Regions from separate parts of the Homo sapiens genome. Here region 2 is linked to region 1. Evidence: promoter capture Hi-C in human tissues and cell types (Jung and others, 2019). All regions are on one chromosome and are shown on one strand. Each heading gives the region's core, a stretch centred on a gene start or on the middle of the fragment in contact. The rest is flanking DNA. Distances are from core to core; before and after follow the strand shown. Region 1 holds the start of RRP1 (ribosomal RNA processing 1). Region 2 holds the start of LOC124905030 (a long non-coding RNA gene).

What was found. The method cuts DNA at HindIII sites, captures the fragments that hold promoters and counts their contacts. A contact is called where the count stands out against the background at its distance.
Region 2: a fragment that was not itself captured here is called in contact with the fragment with the promoter of RRP1 in region 1 in 2 of the 25 tissues and cell types used here (adrenal gland and heart left ventricle).

The regions. Positions count from the first base shown.
Region 1 is chr21:43,788,269-43,790,968 of GRCh38, forward strand. RRP1 (ribosomal RNA processing 1) reads left to right here and starts at 1,309. Exons shown (of 13, transcript NM_003683.6): 1 at 1,309-1,494. The coding sequence starts at 1,362. RefSeq lists silencers at 1,110-1,339, 1,550-1,719 and an enhancer at 1,370-1,479. The HindIII fragment of the contact is 35,062 bases long and covers 1-2,700 here.
Region 2 is chr21:43,701,763-43,704,467 of GRCh38, forward strand. LOC124905030 (a long non-coding RNA gene) reads right to left here and starts at 1,538. Exons shown (of 2, transcript XR_007067894.1): 1 at 901-1,538; 2 at 1-230. The HindIII fragment of the contact is 8,181 bases long and covers 1-2,705 here.

The sequences.
Region 1 (2,700 bases), core at 59-2,558:
CTGTATTCCTGCCTGTAGACGCCACACTTGTATTTTTTTGAGACGGAGTCTCACTCTGTCACCCAGGCTGGGGTGCAGTGGCGCGATCTCGGCTCACTGCAAGCTCCGCCTCCGGGGTTCACGCCATTCTCCTGCCTCAGCCTCCTGAGTAGCTGGGACTACAGGCGCCCGCCACCACGCTCAGCTAATTTTTTGTGTTTTTAGTAGAGACGGGGTTTCACCGTGTTAGCCAGGATGGTCTCGATCTCCTGACCTCATGATCCGCCCGCCTCGGCCTCCCAAAGTGCTGGGATTACAGGCGTGAGCCACCGCGCCCGGCCAACGCCACAACTGTTAACAGTGTGCCATAGTTGCTTATCTGCATACACATATGTGCGTGTAATGATTTACTTTTTTGCAGAATGAATTACAGACATCATGACAGGTCACCTTTACCAAAGAGTTCTGCAGTTATTTCTAAAAATAAAGAATATTTTTCTACTTCAGGGTATGTCAAACTGTGGCCCTAGGCCAAATGCAGCCTCCCCGTTTTTTTTTTTGTTGTTGTTTTTTGAGACAGAGTCTCACTCTGTCGCCCAGGCTGGAGTGCAGCGGCGCAATCTCGACTCACTGCAACCTCCGCCTCCCGGATTCAAGCAATTCTCCTGCCTCAGCCTCCTGAGTAGCTGGGATTACAAGCGCCCGCCACTACGCCTGGCTAATTTTTGTATTTTTAGTAGAGACAGGGTTTCACCATGTTGGTCAGGCTGGTCTCAAACTCCTGACCTCGTGATCCACCCGCCTCAGCCTCCCAAAGTGCTGGAATTACAGGCGTGAGCCACCGCGCCCGGCACACCCCTGGTTTTAAAAATAAAGTTTCGAGCCGAGAGTGGTGGCGCCCGTGGTCCCAGCTCCTCGGGAGGCTGAGGCTGGGGGATCCCTGGAGCCCGCGAGGCAAAGGCTGCAGTGAGCCGAGATCGCGCCTTGCACTCCAGCGTGGGTAACAGAGCGAGACCCTGTCTCAGGAAAAAAATACAAGTGGGGTTATAAATAAAATGAGATTAAAAAACAACAGATCTTTGCCTCAGAATCCCGACCCACCGCAGCCCCAGCGAGGCGCAGGCGCAGGCGCAGGCGCGCGCTCGCTGGTTCCGCCCATGCGCACAGGCAGGGAGCGCGCGCCCCCTCTGTAGCCTTCGGCCTCCGGGGGCTGCAGTTGCGCGGCTCGGCCACTGCGCGGCGGTGGCGTGCGCCTGGGCGGTGTCGCGGGCTGTGACGTCACGCCACGCGCCGGGGCCAGGAGGAGGCGGGCGCAGGAGGCGCGTGCTCAGTGTGCTGGGTACCAGGCGACTCCGGGACAGGGGGTCTCGGCCGTCGGCGTCATGGTTTCGCGCGTGCAGCTCCCGCCTGAGATCCAGCTGGCTCAGCGCCTGGCGGGGAATGAGCAGGTGACCCGGGACCGGGCGGTGAGGAAGCTCCGGAAATACATCGTCGCCAGGACTCAGCGGGCCGCAGGTTGGCGGGGGTGTGGGCGGCTGGCGTCTCGGGGGCCGGCTGGGCTGGTGCGGGTGTGGGCGGCGGCGGCCGGAGCTGGGGGCCCTCCGAGCCCTGTGGAACCTCCACGTGGCCGGGCCGGGCAGGCGGGGTCCACTGGCCTGTTCCCGCTGTTACCGGCCCACGGCCCCCGCCGCCGCTTTCCCTCGTGGTGCGGTGACTCTGGTCCCTCTGCGAGAACGCTCCTCCCCAGCCCCGTAACCCCTTTCCTAGCTCAGGCGTCCCCTCCCTCCAGTAGACCATGTACTCCTGCTGCCCTGCTGTTTGGGCACCCAGTATTTTTCCCTCATGGCAGCATTTCCCACTGTTTGCAGTTTTCTGTTTTGCGTTAATTATTGGATTGTTTTCCGATTTCCACTCGAGAGTACCTCTCTGAGGGCCGAGAATCTACTTCTTGTTCATGGTACCAGGTGGTTCTCCGAGCGTGGTCCCCCATCAGCAGTAGCATCCCCTGGACATTTGTTAGAAATACACGTTCTATGCCGGGCGCAGTGGCCCAAGCCTGTAATCCCAGCTACTTGGCACGTCGATGTGGGAGGATCACAAAGGCCCAGGAGTCCAGCCTGGGCAACATAGCAAGACTCCATTTCCATCGCAAAAGAAAAGAAAGAAATGCAAGTTCTAGGATCCCAGCCCTACTAAATCAGGACTGGCATCTGCTTTATGAAGCTGTTCAAGTGCTTCTGCTCCCCACACTCAGCCTGAGAACCACTGCTGCAGGAACAGGTTGCCAGACACATAGGACTTCAGTGAATGTCAACTGAGTAATGTTTTAAATTAAAATTTTTTGTTATTTTTCTGAGTGAGACAGACCTCACTGTCATCCGTGGTGGAGGAGTGCATTGGCACGATTACAGCTCACTGCAGCCTCTACCTCCCAGGCTCAAGTGAGCCTCCCATCTCAGCCTCCCCAATAGCTGGGACTACTGGCACCGTGCGGCCAGGCCAGCTAAGTTTTGTATTTTTTGTACAAATTGGGGTCTTCCTATGTTGCCCAGACTGGTCTTGAACTCCTGGCCTCAAGTGATCCTGCCTCAGCACTCAATTCCAAAGTGCTGGGAGTACAGGCGTGAGCCACCGCACCTGGCCTCAGTAATTTCTGTTTCTCTCGTAGTCTGAATGCCTGAGTTCACTTTCTTCTTTTAGTATTTGAGATATATTACAGGA
Region 2 (2,705 bases), core at 165-2,664, 86 kb before region 1:
TTTCAACACGTAATTAATATTAAAAAGTATTAAGATATTTTGCAGGCTTTTTTTTCTGTAGTAAGTTTCCAAAACCAGGCGTGTATGCTGATGGCACGCGTCGCCTGGCACTCTGGAGTCACATGTGGTTGCAGCTATGATATTGGCCATGGCGATTCTACAGCTAAAGCCGAGAGGAAGTTTGTCCAGAGAACAAGTCGGGGTGGGGATCTCAGTAGAGGGAACCGCACCTGAGTAGAGGCACAAAGGAGGGAACAGCCAGTGCAGCCAGGATGTAGGGGGGCTGGCCAGGGACGGCCATGGGGGCCGTGGGGGCCGTGGGCAGGGTTTGGGCTTTGTCCTGTGCACACTTCAGGAGCCACTGGAGAGCACCCACCAGGCAGCAGGGGAAGGAAGGGTCAGAGGCCCGGATGGACCAGAGGCGGGAGGGCAGCCAGGCCTGGGGCCCACACCTGGGCTCAGCGGGCAGGATCGGAGGACCGGCTTCTGGTTGATGTGGGGAGGGCCCAGGGAGAATGGGGAAAAGAAGACAGGGAGGTTTCCAGAGCGTGTCGGCCTCTCTCCTCGTTTCCTGATCCACCTCATCTCCATGGGCACGTTTTCCTTCTGAGAAGAGCTGGGAAGCCCGTCAGCAGGCGGGCCTCTGTCCTCACCTCCACTAACCTGGCCCTTGCAGGCGTCCCAGGCTTCCAGGGCCAGCCCCCTGGGGTTTGGCACCCTGCAGCCTCTGACTTTCTCTTCACTGCTCCTTTGGGAGCACGTGCCAGAAGAGACACTGCCTCCGTGGCTGGCACGGACGACGACGCCCAGCAGGCAGCTGTCTCAGGAGGACAGGCCCAGCTGCAGGAAAGGGCAGCCCCGGGCTTCTGGCAGGGGCTGAGGCAGGGAGGCCAGCCCTACCTGGGGGCTGGAGGTGGCGTTGAGTGGGGGTGTAGGGGGTCCGCAGACGGCAGCTGAAGCCCCTTCTCTGCAGGTTATGCTGGTGCGATTCCCTTTTAGGAAGTAGAGTCCGTGTGGAGAGAACGGTGAGCCGCCTGCGTCCTGTTGCGATTCAGCCCCTGTGTCTTCCCGGAGGGCCCTGCGCCCGCCTTTTGTTCCTAGGACTCGGTGCCTTTCTGAACCCAGTCTAAAAATTGCCGCAGCTCTTTCTGGCGTTAGTCACTGCCTGGTGATTAAGGCTTCAGTCCGTCAATCTTTAAATCCTACAATTATTTCTCCACCCAGGTTTTTAAGAATAAAAGTTGAAAATGTACTGAACTGACAGCTACCGGATTTGATTCCTATTTGATTCGTACCTTTCCCGAGTGGCCCCGATCGCCACCGCAGCGCCACGTCCTGGCAAATCATTCACGCCGACCTTGAGAACTCAGCAGAGGTGCAGACTGACACTCAGCCCCGCCCCCTATCACGGGCTTTCTGCGGGTGAAAGGAGACGTTGCTTTTGTTCCCCACAAGCAACTGCAGGCAGTGCTACTTATTTTTAACACAGTTGAGCGGGCAACTTTATCTTAAATGATTATGTGCTGAAATCTGCTGATGAAAACGCTATAAGATGGGCATGGGCAGGGGTGGCCGCCAGATGTGTTCTGCGTGACAGCTTTTTCTGAACCTGCTGGACAAAGTCCCCACTTGTTGCCCGCTCAGCCCCGGTCACAGCCCCACCTCGCCGGGGCTTGTCTTCAGTTCCTCACACTGCCACGCTCTTGACCCACTCATTGGCCTCTTTGTGGGGACCCTTCAGCCAGAAGGCCCTTCCCCTTTCCTGCCCAGCTCTGGCCCAGACCTGCCACATGGAGGCTGTTAGAGGTGGAATGTCTGAGGCCTCCAAATGCATGTGTTGAAACCTAATCCCCAGAGGGATGGTATTTGGCGATGGAGTTTCCCAGAAGTGGCTTGGTTTGTGCTGGCTGCTATAGCAAGTACAGTCATGGGTCGCCTAGTGAGATCTGTTTTGAGAAATGCATGCTCGGGCGATATCACTGTCGTGCAGACCTCACAGCATTCACTCACACAAACCCGGCTAGCACAGCCCGTGACACACCTCAGCCCTGTGCTGTAACCTGCTGTTCCCAGGCTACAAACCTGCAGAGCATGTCACTGCACCAGATACTGTGGGCCCCCTTGACAGTGGTGAGCTCTTGTGTATCTAAATACAGAAAAGGCATAAAAAATAACGTGCCAGCCGGGTGCGGTGGCTCACACTGTCATCCCAGCACTGTGGGAGGCCGAGGCGGTTGGATCACCTGAGGTCAGGAGTTCGAGACCAGCCTGGCCAACATGGTGAAACCCCGTCTAAACTAAAAATACAAAAATTAGCTGGGCATGGAGGCACATGCCTGTAATCCCAGCTTCTGAGGCTGAGGCAGGAGAATCGCTTGAACTGGGGAGGCGGAGGTTGCAGTGAGCCGAGATCACACCACTGCACTCCAGCCTGGGTGACAGAGCGAGACTCCATCTCAAAAAAAAAAAAAAAAAAATACGGTGTCATCATGTATGGGACTATCTATGGGACTTGTGGCACTTGACTGGACCATAAACTGCTTATAAACAACAGAAATTGATTTCTCAAAGTTCTGGAGGCTGGAGGTCCAAGATGGAGCACCGGCAGATCTGGTGTCTGGGAGAGGCCAGGCAGCTCTTTGGGGCCTCTTTCACAAGGGCACAAATCCCATTCCTGAGGGCTCCCCGCAACGACTTCATCACCT